Regions from separate parts of the Homo sapiens genome. Here regions 2, 3, 4 and 5 are each linked to region 1. The links are contacts of gene promoters, found by promoter capture Hi-C in human tissues and cell types (Jung and others, 2019). All regions are on one chromosome and are shown on one strand. Each heading gives the region's core, a stretch centred on a gene start or on the middle of the fragment in contact. The rest is flanking DNA. Distances are from core to core; before and after follow the strand shown. Region 1 holds the start of GALT (galactose-1-phosphate uridylyltransferase). Region 2 overlaps LOC124902150 (a long non-coding RNA gene). Region 3 overlaps B4GALT1 (beta-1,4-galactosyltransferase 1). Region 4 has its middle 9.4 kb from the start of MIR6851. Region 5 has its middle 5.2 kb from the start of TPM2.

What was found. Contacts are between HindIII fragments. The study calls those that stand out against the background at their distance.
Region 2: a contact is called between a fragment that was not itself captured here and the fragment with the promoter of GALT in region 1, in 1 of the 25 tissues and cell types used here (pancreas).
Region 3: a fragment that was not itself captured here is called in contact with the fragment with the promoter of GALT in region 1 in 1 of the 25 tissues and cell types used here (small bowel).
Region 4: a contact is called between a fragment that was not itself captured here and the fragment with the promoter of GALT in region 1, in 1 of the 25 tissues and cell types used here (heart right ventricle).
Region 5: a fragment that was not itself captured here is called in contact with the fragment with the promoter of GALT in region 1 in 1 of the 25 tissues and cell types used here (dorsolateral prefrontal cortex).

Annotation. Positions count from the first base shown.
Region 1 is chr9:34,645,233-34,647,924 of GRCh38, reverse strand. It overlaps GALT (galactose-1-phosphate uridylyltransferase), which reads right to left and starts at 1,250. Exons shown (of 11, transcript NM_000155.4): 1 at 1,139-1,250; 2 at 667-836; 3 at 358-433; 4 at 220-268; 5 at 1-93. The coding sequence starts at 1,220. RefSeq lists enhancers at 646-825, 1,396-1,505. The HindIII fragment of the contact is 1,689 bases long and covers 815-2,503 here.
Region 2 is chr9:36,263,985-36,266,676 of GRCh38, reverse strand. LOC124902150 (a long non-coding RNA gene) reads right to left here. Exons shown (of 3, transcript XR_007061473.1): 2 at 1,103-1,256. It also overlaps a transcript of GNE not described here. Among named protein-coding and RNA genes, the nearest start is that of GNE, 6.9 kb to the right of the region's middle. The HindIII fragment of the contact is 4,032 bases long and covers 1-2,692 here.
Region 3 is chr9:33,149,338-33,152,029 of GRCh38, reverse strand. All of the region lies in intron 1 of B4GALT1 (beta-1,4-galactosyltransferase 1), which reads left to right. Among named protein-coding and RNA genes, the nearest start is that of B4GALT1-AS1, 16 kb to the left of the region's middle. The HindIII fragment of the contact is 4,121 bases long and covers 1-2,692 here.
Region 4 is chr9:33,457,170-33,459,861 of GRCh38, reverse strand. No RefSeq gene overlaps it. Among named protein-coding and RNA genes, the nearest start is that of MIR6851, 9.4 kb to the left of the region's middle. RefSeq lists enhancers at 1,105-1,264, 509-1,708. The HindIII fragment of the contact is 5,989 bases long and covers 1-2,692 here.
Region 5 is chr9:35,693,768-35,696,459 of GRCh38, reverse strand. No RefSeq gene overlaps it. Among named protein-coding and RNA genes, the nearest start is that of TPM2, 5.2 kb to the right of the region's middle. The HindIII fragment of the contact is 3,222 bases long and covers 1-2,692 here.

The DNA of each region.
Region 1 (2,692 bases), core at 1-2,500:
ACTGAGGCCCATGCATCAACAACAGCCCGGATCTCAGGGACCGACATGAGTGGCAGCGTTACATCCGACCAGGGGTGGAAGCACATGACCTTACTGGGTGGTGACGGGAGAAAAGATAACCGAGAGGTAGGGCTTGGCTGTGCTACGGGCAGGGCCGAACCCCAATGCTGAGTCTCCAACTCTGGTTTGAAAGTTGTAAGAGGGGAAATCCATAGTTACCAGACTCCTCGAGCAGACTTTGCTTGGAAAAGGGGATGATCACTGGGTCCTGAGGTAAAGGAGTATCACTCTCTGCAGCAGAAGTCCCTCAAGAGGTCTAGCCACCCTCCTCCCCAGCAGCAGTTGGAGCCAGGTTACCTGGACTGGGGGCATCAGGCTGCAGAGCTGGGAAGTCGTTGTCAAACAGGAAGGTGCTATCGTACTGGGGATTCACCTACCGACAAGGATAGGCTAGAAGCACTCACTGCCCCATACCACCAGTTACCTGGTGGGCTTCAAAGACTGGACAGGCTACAAGGGAGTAGGGAAGGCCCACCCTAGGGGACCAAAAAGCTTGGTGGGATATGACCCAGAAGGAGGTTCACTATCCCTGTGGGTGGAGGACAGTTCTAAGAGGGAACTACTCCCCGTGGCCCAGCCTGCAGATGCAGGGCTCTACAGGCTTACCTCTCCGTTGGCTCGGATGGCCCCAGGACACAGAGGGTTGAGAGGGTCATGGCGGGGCACTGTCTTCAGAAGCTGGGGCTCCACTTGACCCTGCCAGGGCCGCTTCATGCGGTGAGCTGACACCAGCACCCACTCATCCTGCAGCGGGTTGTAGCGGATATGCTGATGGTCTGGGGGCAGACAGTCAAGATCAGTCCTCAGAGCTCTCTAGCTCCCTCTCTCCTGGGTCTCACCCACCAGCAGGCCCAAGCTCGGGAGCGCCCTCTCGGCCCTGTCCCGCTCAGGAGCTAGAGGCCCAGGATTGGACTTTCCCAGCGCCAATTGGCCTGCTGCTCGTACAGGCCTGCAGACTGTACGCCTTGTCGGTCTGGCTCGGGATGAGCGTTCCAACCTTCGGAGGGGACGAAAGCTTCCTAAGGAAGGGGAGGGCTCGGCTCCGCGCCCCAGCGAGTCCCTGCCGCGGTGCAGTTACCGTTTGCCCGGAAGGTTGCTGCTGCGGCGTCCGCCTCTGACGCCTGCTGGCGTTGCTGAGGATCGGTTCCACTGCGCGACATGAGGCCACCGGGGGATCCGCTGGAAAATCTGCAGGGCCGTGCCTCACCTTTCACTTTCTCCGTCCACACCACCCCTCCCCGCGCCGCCCCCGATGATTGGCCAGCCGCCAGCACGTGACTGACTGACTGGGCTGCCCTGCCACCTGGGGGCGGGGCTCAGAACAGCTGTGAACCCTGGGGGCCGACATTGATGATCCTACTTCACCCAGAGCTAGAGCCACTACACTGGAAGAACCTCTGTGAAAGCTGCCTACTGCAGAATCCTTGGGCTCCAGGATGCCTACAGGACTTGCTTGCTGCAATCATTCATTTGATCTTTCATTCAGCAAATATTTACCAAGCATCTAGCATGTGCTAGGCACCTAGGCTGTGTAAAGCATTGGGATGCACATGTCAGGCATGGCCTCTGCCCTGCCTGAGCTTACATTCTAGGGCGAGTAAGGATATGACCCTGGATCAACAGCGCCTCAGTCACCTGCTCAGTGGCTGTAGCGCAGGAGAGGCAAACTTGGTGGGGTCTGTGTGGAGTACTTCACCATAACCATATCCTATCCCCAAAAGCAAAAACAGATTTGGGAAAAAGGGCTAAGTAACCATATTCTCTTTTTCTCTCACTCTTGCTCTCCTTCCTCTCTCTCTCTCTCTCTTTTTCATACACACACCAAGACAGCACAAGAAGTGGGAGGGGTAAAAGGGCTATAAAAAAAAATCTAAAAATGGCCGGGCTCGGTGGCTCACGCCTGTAATCCCAACACTTTGGGAGACCAAGGCAGGCGGATCACAAGGTCAAGAAATTGAGACCATCCTGGCCAACATGGTGAAACCCCGTCTCTAGTAAAAAAAAAAAAAAAAAAAATTAGCTGGTCTTGGTGGCGTGCACCTGTAGTCCCACCTACTCGGGAGGCTGAGGCAGGAGAATCACTTGAACCCAGGAGGCAGAGGTTGCAGTGAGCCGAGATTGTGCCCATGCACTCTAGCCTGGCGACAGAGCAGACTCCGTCACAAAAAAAAAAAAAAAAGTACAAGAAAGTCTAAAAATGTGGAGAGTACAGGACTATCAGAAGCTCCAGCCACCATCTAGGTGGGGCCTAGTGTTTCCTTTACACATCCCCTTCCCTTTTCTAAATTTTCCTTGGATGGGACCAATTGGCTAACACTAGGATAAAATTCAAATTAATTCCTCCCCTGGTACTTTTGTTTGTTTGTTTGTTTGAGAGAGAGTCTCACTCTGCCACCCAGGCTGGAGTGCAGTGGCGTGATCTTGGCTCACTGCAACCTCCACCTCCCAGGTTCAAGCGATTCTCCTGCCTCAGCCTCCAAGTAGCTGGAATTAGAGCTGTGTGCCACCACACTGGGCTAATTTATGTATTTTTAGTAGAGACGGGGTTTCACATGTTGGCCAGGCTGGTCTTGAACTCCTGACTTCAAGTGATCCTCCTGCCTCAGCCTCCCAAACAGCTGGCCCCCAGTAC
Region 2 (2,692 bases), core at 83-2,582, 1.6 Mb before region 1:
CGGCCTCCCAAAGTGCTGGGATTACAGGCGTGAGCCACCGCACCCAGCCTAATTTTTGTATTTTTAGTAGAGACGGGATTTCACCGTGTTGACCAGGCTGGTCTCAAAGTCCTGACCTCAGGTGATCCACCTGCCTCGGCCTCCCAAACTGCTGGGATTACAGGCATGAGCCACTACTCCTGGCCTCAGCCAATATAATCTTAATCCTTACATGCTTTTCCTGGGAGAAAAGAATTGCTTTCCCCATGTAGTGTAGCCTCATAAGGCTATTCTGCAACAGGAGCAATTTTCTTTTCTGGGGAGGCTATAAACAATCTGGCGTATGCAGTGATATCTGGTTTGTAAGGTGTGTTTTACCTCTGTATACTCTAGAGTAGGGGGTCCCCAACCCCTGGGCCATGGACTGGTACTGGCCAGTGTCTTGTTAAGAACTGGGCCGCAGGCCAGGTCGGGCGCGGTGGCTTATGCCTGTAATCGCAACACTTTGGGAGGCTGAGGTGGGTGGATCACTTGAGGTCAGGAGTTCTCGACCAGCCTGGCCAACATGATGAAACCCCGTCTCTACTAAAAATACAAAAATTAGCCAGACCGCATGCCTGTAATCCCAGCTACTCGGGAGGCTGAGGCAGGAGAATCACTTGAACTCGGGAGGTGGAGCTTACAGTGAGCCAAGAAGCCAAGATTGCGCCACTGCACTCCAGCCTGGGTGACAGAGTGAGACTCCGTCTCAAAAAAATAAAATAAAATAAAAAAATAACTGGGCCGCATAATAGGAGATAAATGGCAGGCAAGCAAGCATTACCGTCTACATTCCTCCTCCTGTCAGAACAGTGGTGGCATCAGATTCTCATAGAAGCACAAATCCTATTGTGAACGGCGCATGCTAGGGACCTAGGTTGAACGCTCCTTATGAGAATTTAATGCCTGATGATCTCAGGTAGAACAGTTTCATCCTGAAACCATCCCCACCCCCACTTCCCATGGAAAAACTGTCTTCCAGGAAACCAGTCCCTGGTGCCAAAAAGACTGGGGACCGCTGCCCTAGAGACTCTGGTAATTAAAAGTGTTGTGGCTGAGATACAGTATGGGGTGAGATACTTACCAGCTAGGGAAAGATATTTACTAAACAGGAATATCCAGCTTAATATGGTGATGAATTGCTCAGTTTATTCCACCTCTTGTTGATTTCTTCATGATATTGGCTTAGGGCAGAGATGGCACATACATGGCAACATCCTTGACTCCCTTCCATCTCCCTAGAAAACAACATGGCAGACATCACAATGTTACCGGGGGTCCTTGCTCCCAGAGCTCCCAACATGGTGGCGGGTTGCTTCCAAGATGGCAGCAAGCCTCTCGTTCTCTGACCTGGGGTTCTTGGCCCCACGGATTCCAAGGAATGGAATCTTGGGCCATGCGGTGAATGTTATAGCTCTATTGGAAGACGTGGGTCATGGAAGAGAACCGTAGAACCCAGCGACTAGTGTTCATCTCAATTAGGACGAACCCAGGCACTTGCCGTGCAGGAACAACGGCAAGCCTTCAGCCCGATCGGGAGCAGCAGTGGGCGCCTCGCTGGATCAGGAGCACAGCAGACACCCTGCCAGATCCGGAGGGGTGGAAGTCAGCGGCGGGTCTGCGACTGCGGCAAACAGCAGTGGTGGACAACGAGCGAAAGCTTAGCTTGAGCGGTAACAAACACGGTACAAACACGGACCAGAAGAGTATGCAGTTACAAGATTTAATAGAGTGAAAACACAGCTCCCATACAAAGGGAGGGGAGCCAAAGAGGGTAGCCGTTGCCGGCTGGAATGCCTGGCTTTATATCCTGATCATTGTCCCTCCCACTGTGCTCTCAGGCAATAGATGATTGGTTAGTTCTTTACCTCCTGTTTTTGTCTGATTGGCATTTTAGTGAGCTCTCTTTACTACCTGATTGGTCGGGTGTGAGCTAAGTTGCAAGCCCCATGTTTAAAGGTGGATGCGGTCACCTTCCTAACTAGGCCTAGGGATTCTTAGTCGGCCTAGGAAATCCAGCTAGTCCTGTCTCTCAACAGTACATACTCTTTTCCAGTAAACTCTAGCCCCAGAGTCATTTTTGACACAGTTCTCCAGGCAGCCACCATCAATCGGTTGGAAGTGGGGATCGAAATAAGGTTGGGGATTCTCCCTGGCTCACAGTTTTACTGTTAGTATCTTCTGAATGCAAGGAACAGGGCATCTTTTTTAAAAAGAGGATTTAGGCCAGGCACGGTGGCTCATGCCTGTAATCCTAGCATTTTGGTAGGCCAAGGCAGGCGGATTGCCTGAGCTCAGGAGTTGGAGACCATCCTGGCAACATGACGAAACCCCATCTCTATAAAAAATACAAAAAAACTTAGCCGGGCATCGTGGTGCCTGCCTGTAGTCCCAATTACTTGGGAAGCTGAGGCACAAAAATTACTTGAACCTGGGAGGTGGAGGTTGCAGTGAGCCAAGATAGCACCACTGCACTCAAGCCTGGGTGACAGAGTGAGACTCTGTCTCCAAAAAAAACATAATAAAATAAATAAATAAATAAAAAGATGATTTAAGGATACATGTAGATTAAAATCAGAAAGTTGTTCAGGATTCAAGTCAAGTCAGGGCCTGGATTCTCTCCCTATGGCCTCCCTGTGCTACCTCTCACAGCTATCTGTGACTATGTTTTTAA
Region 3 (2,692 bases), core at 193-2,692, 1.5 Mb after region 1:
TTTGAATTTTTATGTGTTTAAATCTATGTTTTCCTTTATGACTTCAGGTTGCTTTCATACTTAAGCAGGTCTTCACCATCCCAAAATGATAAAATTTTTCTCCTGAGTTTTCTTCTAAGTTGGTTCTTTAGAAGCCACCAACTTGGCTTCGACAGCAAAAGATGAACAGAATTTCTGTTCAACTCTCATGCTGCAAGAAGCTTTATGTAATACTCCAGGGACCCTTTAAGGTCCCAGAGTTTTCCTCCAAATCTATCAGTGATTCTAGTGGCTAAGAGTAGAAATGTGAAAATTTAGCCATGTGTGCTGATAGAGCTGTAGTAATTTGTAAGCTCTGAAGTTCTAAGGAGTCAGGGGAGAAGGGAAAGTAACATTTATTGAACATCTATTAGCTCAATAAGAACATGCGATAAGTATGTATATGTATTATTTCACTTACATCTGAAAGGAAGGCATAATTATCCCCACTCCTTAGAGAAGGAAATTGGAGCTGGCTACATTTAAAGTAGTCCTGACACCAGAGAGATATTGCCAGGAGTACTTGGCTGGCTGAGTGCCCAGATGGCCCATAGGAGTAGTGGGCCCTCCACAGTCCAAGGTCTGGTTCTAGGTGGAGAGAGAAGGATGTGCTCGTAGTCAGCACCGCAGCTCCAGAAAATCTGCTGGGGCTCCAAAACTGATTAGAGGGGCAGCTGACTCAGTAATAAAACTCCCAGGAGACTTACTTACATACTGGAATGCAAAGTTGCAGCTTTACTGGGAAGATTAGAACTGTTATTGAGTAGCTTAGAAATCTCTGGCTGAATTCACTGCAAGGGAAGCCGCAGGATAAGCTAACTGCTGGTGAGTCAGCAGTCAGAGCAGGGAAGTGAATTTAACATTAGATGGGTCAGTCTCTCGTGGCTGATGAATTCATCCCCACAATACTGTACACCTGCCTTAGGGACCTTTGTCTGGACTAGGGGTTGGGGTCCCCCTCCTTTGTACAGCCCTGGAAGGACACATCCAGCTCCATCCGCCATCTCTCCCTTACTTATTTCCTTCCTTCCTTCCTTCTTTCCATCCAGCCATCAAGCTTCCTTTCATGGCCAATAATCATCATTGGGGTCTACTCATGGACTCTCTTGCCTCATGTATTTGTTTTATTTTGTCCTCATTCCCACTTCTATTTCCCAGGTATATCACAGGCAACTATTCTAACGTATTTATAGTTTGTGTATCTGTTTTTGCTCTTGCCAAAATGGAAGCCACTGCTTTATACATAGATGTATTCTTAACTTTAAAAAAAATTTTTTTAGATTAACCTACAATAAAATTGGCTTTTTGGCATATAGTCTATAAATTTTAACACATACATATTTTTGTGTATCTACCACCACAATCAGGATACAGAACAGTTCCATCACCCCAAAAAAATCCCTCTTGTAGTCACATTCTCCTCCCACCCTTAATCCCAGGCAACCACTGATCTATTCTTCATTACTATTGTTTTGTCTTTTTGAGGATGTCACATAAATGGAGTCACACAGTATATATACATTTTTTTAAACATATGTAAATGGCATTTTATAGCTCATTTTGATTATATGTTTTTCATCCAGTTCTGTTTTTTTTTTTTATTTTTAAAAAGTTTGACATAACTTCAGACTTACAGAAAAGTTGTTAGACTAATACAAAGAATTCCTGGATATCCTTTGGAGTCCCTAAATGTTAACATTTTACTATATTTACTTTTTCCTTCTCTCTCTCTCTCTCTCTCGCTCTGTGTGTGTGTGTGTGTGTGTGTGTGTGTGTGTATCTACCTGTAGATAGATAGATATTAATATAATTTTAGATAGATGTATCTAGATCTCTCTCTCTCATATATATGTGTGTGTGTATATATCTATATCTATATCTATATATATCTCCTTTTACCCTTAAATATTCAGTGTATATTTCCTAACAACAAGGTGATTTAAAAATATATATATAAACATAGTATAATTAACAATCAGGACATCAACATTGAAACATTTCTGCTATGTCATCTACAGGCCTTAGGAAGACTTTGTCAGGTGCCCCAATAATAGCCTTGATGGTAGAAGAAAACCATGTGTTGTATTCAGTTGTCATGTCTCTTAGTGTCTTGTAATCTGAAATAATTCCCAAGCCCTTTGGATTTCATGACAGTGACATTGTTGAAGAGTACAGGCCAGTTATTTTGTAGAAGGTCTCTCAGTTTAGGTCTGTCTGATGTTTCCTCCTGATCAGATTCAGGTTATTCACTTTTGACAGGAATACCACTGAAATGATGCTGAGTTCTTCTCAGTGTAACGAGATCTAGAGACACACACTGTCAGTTTGTTCCTTATTGGCAGTGTGAACCTTGAGGATTTCATTGTAGTGGCATTTGGCATTACTCCATTATAGTTACTATTTTACCATTTTAAATTAAAACTATCTGGCCGGGCGTAGTAGCTCATGTCTGTAATCCCAGCACTTTAGGAGGCTGAGGCGGGCAAATTGCTTGAGGTCAGAAGTTTGAAACCATCCTAGCCAACATAACATGGTGAAACGCCATCTCTATAAAAAATACAAAAAATTAGCCTGGCGTGGTGGCGCATTTGTAGTTCCAGCTACTCAGGAGGCTGAGGCACAAGGCTTGCTTGAGCCTGGGAGGCGGAGGTTGCAGTGAGCTGAAATCACGCCA
Region 4 (2,692 bases), core at 94-2,593, 1.2 Mb after region 1:
CTCCTGACCTCAGGTGATCCACCCACCTCAGCTTCCCAAAGTGTTGGAATTACAGGCGTGAACCACTGTGCCTGGCCCTAATTTCAGTCCCTCACAGTTACAGCTCCAACCTGTTTTCCTCAGGTTTTCTCTGGAAAACAGGTGAGCAAACTAGTGTTCAAGATGACTGCCCTAGGCTCCTTTGCCCCAGCCCAGGATGACTCTTGTCTAGCCACAGAGGCCCCAGCTCCAGAGTAGGGAGGTGCTCAGGCTTTAGCTGAGGGGCCAGGGGAGGGGAGGGTGGAGATGGGCAGTCAGGAACCAGAACCCCAGGGGAAGGGAAGGGGAAAAGCCTAGCAGGAAGCCTTATGTGTGAGCAAGTGTACACAGGATAATGGTTAAGCACCCTCATGGATGTGCCTGCCTTGGTGGGTCTCTGCCTTTAACTTCACAGGTGGACAGAGACAGAGTGGATCTTAAGTATGGCATGATTTGTCTGTTCTGTGTGTGGTGCACGTGCACGCCTCTGTATGCACTAGTCTGTCTGTCTGTCGGTATTCACCTCCAGCTCTGGTTTGCTGCAAAAGGGGAACTCTGCCCTGTTTTTTAGAGGGCAGGTTAGAAAAAGCTCTCAAGTCAGAGGCAGGGACCCTGGATTTCTTCCCCTGGCTTTAAATGAAGCTTTCTTCTTGGGGTTTCACTTTTCCCAGTTTTTTTTGTTTTGTTTTTTTTTTAAAGAGACTGGGGGTCTCACTATGTTGCCCAGGCTGGTCTCAAATTCCTGGGCTCAAGTGATCCTCCCATCTTGGCCTCCCAAAGTGCTAGGATACAGAGTTTCCCGTGTTCTGACTGACCTAAGCCTCATTTGGTGAACTCAACAAGGGCCCTCCTTTCTGGCTATGGCATCTGACAACCTCCTCTACCCCCGAATCCTGTTAGCTGAAGACCCTATTTTCCTCTGCCCAGCTCCATACTTTGGGGGAGGAAAGCAAGAACCCCAAGCCTAAGGGGTCCATATGGCATGTTATATCAATGAAATCCTCAGGGCTGCTCAGTCCCTGACCTATTAAGTCAGATTTAGGCTAGCCAGCCCCCCTCCCCCAAGTTTACATGTAACCCCCCCAACATCCGGTACTTGCTTTATGAGTCACAGATTAATCCAGGTGAGTGATAAGGGCGAGGGGAAGCCTGGGGCACGTGAGTCACCCGTACCCTTCACAGGAAAGGCCAATCTGCTCATCTACCCCTGAGAGGGAGAAGGAGGAGGCATCTCACACTGCCCCAGGGAACCAAGGAGGACCAAGAAGAAGGGTGTTTCAAACCAGAGGGAGACTTCCTCTTCTACTTCAGAAATGAATGGGGAGTATAATTTTCTGGTTTATATCAGGCCAAGATGTGTAGGAACTTGTCTAGGGTCACACAGGAACTTGTGGGGTACAGCTACTGAGAATCTAGGTGTCCTGGCTCCAGGCAAGCCACCTGCTTGAACTTGGCTTTCCTGGGGCCAAGGGGTGGAGTGTGGAGGAAGAAAGGACTAGAAACGCCTGAGCTGCAGACCTCTCCAGTGGGGCAGGGGAGTAGGGAAAAGCCAGGAGCCTCACCTGTTTTGGGCCACTTGCCAGCCTAACCCCTTCTCCTTCTTCCCAAGCCTTTTATTTATTTATTATTATTATTTTTTTTTTTATTTGAGACGCCCAGGCTGGAGTGCAGTGGCCCGATCTCGGCTCACTGTAACCTCCGCCTCCCAGGTTCAAGCGATTCCCCTGTCTCAGTCTCCCAAGTAGCTGGGATTACAGACACTCGCCATCATGCCTGGCTAATTTTTGTAGTTTTGTAGAGACAGGGTGGGGGGCGGTTTCACCATGTTGCCTAGGCCGGTCTTGGAACTCCTGACCTCAGGTGATCCACACACCTCAGCTTCCCAAAGTGCTGGGATTACAGGCATGAGCCACTGTGCCCGGCCTGCCCAAGGCTTTTGAATGCAGCTTTTATCAGCAGCCCAGAGGAGCAGGGTGAAGGATATGGAGAGTGGGGTTGTGCAGGGAGAGAGGGAGTATGAGCATTCTGGTCAACCTCAGCTCAAGCCTAAATCTCCTCTGTTCCCTGGCCTGGGAGCTCAAAAGCAGGACCCAGCTCTCCTCTATTCTCCCAGATTGGAAACTTCCACAGGTCAGGGCTTGGGTCTCCCCAGGACTGAAGAGGCCAAGGTTGGGCCCTGTCTGGAGGGGCAAGGAAGCACTCAGACTGAGCCCCAGTTCCACTTGATGACCAACGGTTTGGATGAAGAGGATAGTTATGGCCAGGCACGGTGGCTCACGCCTGTAATCCCAGCACTTAGGGAGGCCGAGGCGGGCAGATCATGAGGTCAGGAGATCGAGACCAGCCTGGCCAATATGGTGAAACCCCGTCTCTACTAAAAATACCAAAAGTAGCTGGGTGTGGTGGCACGTGCCTGTAATCCCAGCTACTCAGGAGGCTGAGGCAGGAGAATTGCTTGAACCCGGGAGGCAGAGGTTGCAGTGAGCTGAGATTGCATCACTGTACTCCAGCCTGGGTGACAGAGCAAGACTCCATCTCAGAAAAAAAAAAAAGAAAATTATGGCATCCTGCCCTCTCCCCAGTCTCCCTCCACAACCTCCACAATGCCCCCACCCCCATCTCCCAACCTATGGGGGTCCCTCTGGAGCCTAGTTCTCACTGACCCCCAGTCTCG
Region 5 (2,692 bases), core at 111-2,610, 1.0 Mb before region 1:
CTTGAAGTAGATGGAATGTAGCTGGTAACGGTGGTTCGAGCCTCTAATCCCAGCTACTTAAAAGGCTGAGGCAGGAGGACTGCTTGAGACCAGGAGTTCAAGGCTGCAGTGAGCTATGATGGTGCCACTGTGCACCAGCCTGGGTGACGGAGTGAGAGCCCTTCTCTAAGAAAGTAGATGGAACTCTAGGACAGCCCATTAGGGATGGTGCCAACCTCCTACCATCACTCCTATCACCTGTGATTCATTCATTCAATATTTACTAAGCCATGCTTGTGCTAAGCACTGGAAAATTGAGATGTATTATCACTTCTCTGACGCAGAGGACTGGCAACTCCAGTACATACTGTGGGGGCTCCCTAATCCCAGATTCAATGTCATAGTATCAGTTGAGGACCTTGGAGATCAAATCCCTTCTATAACCTCCCCGACAAGTGGCAGTCTAGACTTTGAACTCCAGCTAGGAGCCCAGGACAGCTGCTTACTCCTGTTACCATTTCCTTGTCATGTCCTCAGGAACTGGGACCAATCACATACTTCTCACTAGTGATACCTTGGGAGCCATCTGGGGAGAGGCTTTAAAACCTATTAAACCAGCAGCTCTTCAAATGTGGTCCTCAGACCCCTAGGGTTCCCTAAGACCTTTTCAGGGGTCCATAGGTCAAAATTATTTTCATAAAAATACCAAGACATTATTTTCCTTAGCTGGGGATGGTGGTGCACACCTGTAATTCCCAGCTACTTGGGAGGCTGAGGCACCAGAATTGCTTGAACCTGTGATGCGGAGGTTGCAGTGAGCCAAGATCACGCCACTGCACTCCAGCCTGGGCAACAGAGCAAGACTCAAAAAAAATGTCCTTGATGAAGTAAAAAAAAAAAATTTTTTTTTTTTTTTGAGACGGAGTCTCGGTCTGTAGCCCAGGCTGGAGTGTAGTGGCGTGATCTCGGCTCACTGCAACCTCCACCTCCTGTGTCCCGGTTCAAGCAATTCTCCTGCCTCAGCCTCCCGAGAAGCTGGGATTACAGGCACATGCCATCATGCCCAGCTAATTTTTGTATTTTTAGTAGAGACAGGGTTTCACCATGTTGGCCAGACTGGTCTTGAACTCCTGACCTCATGATCTGCCTGCCTCAGGCTCCCAAAGTGCTGGGATTACAGGCGTGAGCCACCACGCCCAGCCTAAATGTATTAATTTAATTAAACCTTAATCCTTAAGGAAAAGGCTTTTCAACATTCTGTCTGATAAAGTGGGAAGTATGCATAAGACATTTTGCATACCAAAGTATGATGGTTTTCTGGAGGAAATAACTTAGGCCATTCTTTGAGTTGTGAGCTGAACTAGCTGCTCTTTTATGGAATGCCACGTTTACTCAAAAGAATGGCCGACAAACTGTGGTTATCAGATTTAGGTAGCTGGCAGAACTTTTCTAAAAAGGAACAAAGTGAGTCTGTCACTTCAGGGAAAAATCTGACAGTGTTTGTTGCCAATGATATAATTCAAGCTTTCAAGTGAAAAATCGAATTTTGGAACACTTGTATTTGCTACATGAGCTTCACAGCTTCCCAAAATTTAAAACTTAAAGACTTTACTGTTCTCCAGTATAATACTATGAAGAAAAACAAAGACTTTACTGTTGAAACCTATTGTGATTTTTTTAAAATTTATTTATTTATTTATTTATTTATTTTTGAGACAGAGTCTCGCTCTGTTCCCCAGGCTGGAATGCAGTGGTGCAATCTCAGCTCACTGCAACTTCCACCTCCCAGGTTCAAGCAATTCTCCTGCCTCAGCCTCCTGAGTAGCTGGGACTACAGGCGCCCGCCACCACACCCAGCTAACTTTTTGTATTTTTAGTAGAGACAGGGTTTTGCCATGTTGCCCAGGCTGGTCTCGAACTCCTGAGCTCAGGCAATCCACCCACCTCGGCCTCCCAAAGTGCTGGGATTACAGGTATGAGCCACCGCACCTGGCCTGAAACCTATTGTGATTTTTAAAATAATGTATAATGAAACATTAATATTTGGAAGATTTGCATAGCTCAGTGAATCAATTATTTTCCATATGACGAATGCACGGTGTTACAAAATTATGCATGGGTAAAAGATCCAATCAGGTGCAGTTCAGAAAAACGGATTTTTTTTTTTTTTTTGAGACAGAGTCTTGCTCTGTCACCCAAGCTGGAGTGCAGTGGTGCAATCTCGGCTAACTGCAACCTTCGCCTCGCAGGTTCAAGTGATTCCCCTGCCTCAGCCTCCCGAGTGGCTGGGATTACAGGCGTGTGCCACCACCACACCTGACTAATTTTTGTAGTTTTAGTAGAGACGGGAGGGTTTCACCATGTTGGCCAGGCTGGTCTCGAACTCCTGACCTCAGGTGATCCACCCACCTTGGCGTCACAAAGTGCTGGGATTACAGGCGTGAGCCACCACACTTGGCCAAAACAACGGATTTTAGTTTAACAGTACAAAAAGGTCACTGATATGGTTTCACATTCTACATTGCAACTGCCCCTTAAGAAACTGCCAATTATCGGCCAGGCACAGTGGCTCAGGCCTGTAATTCCAGCACTTTGGGAGGCTGAGGCAGGAGGGTAGCTTGAGCCTAGGAGTTTGAGACCAACCTAGGCAACATAGTGGCACACCATCTCTATTTAAAAAAAAAAAAAAAAGGGCCGGGTATGATGGTGCACA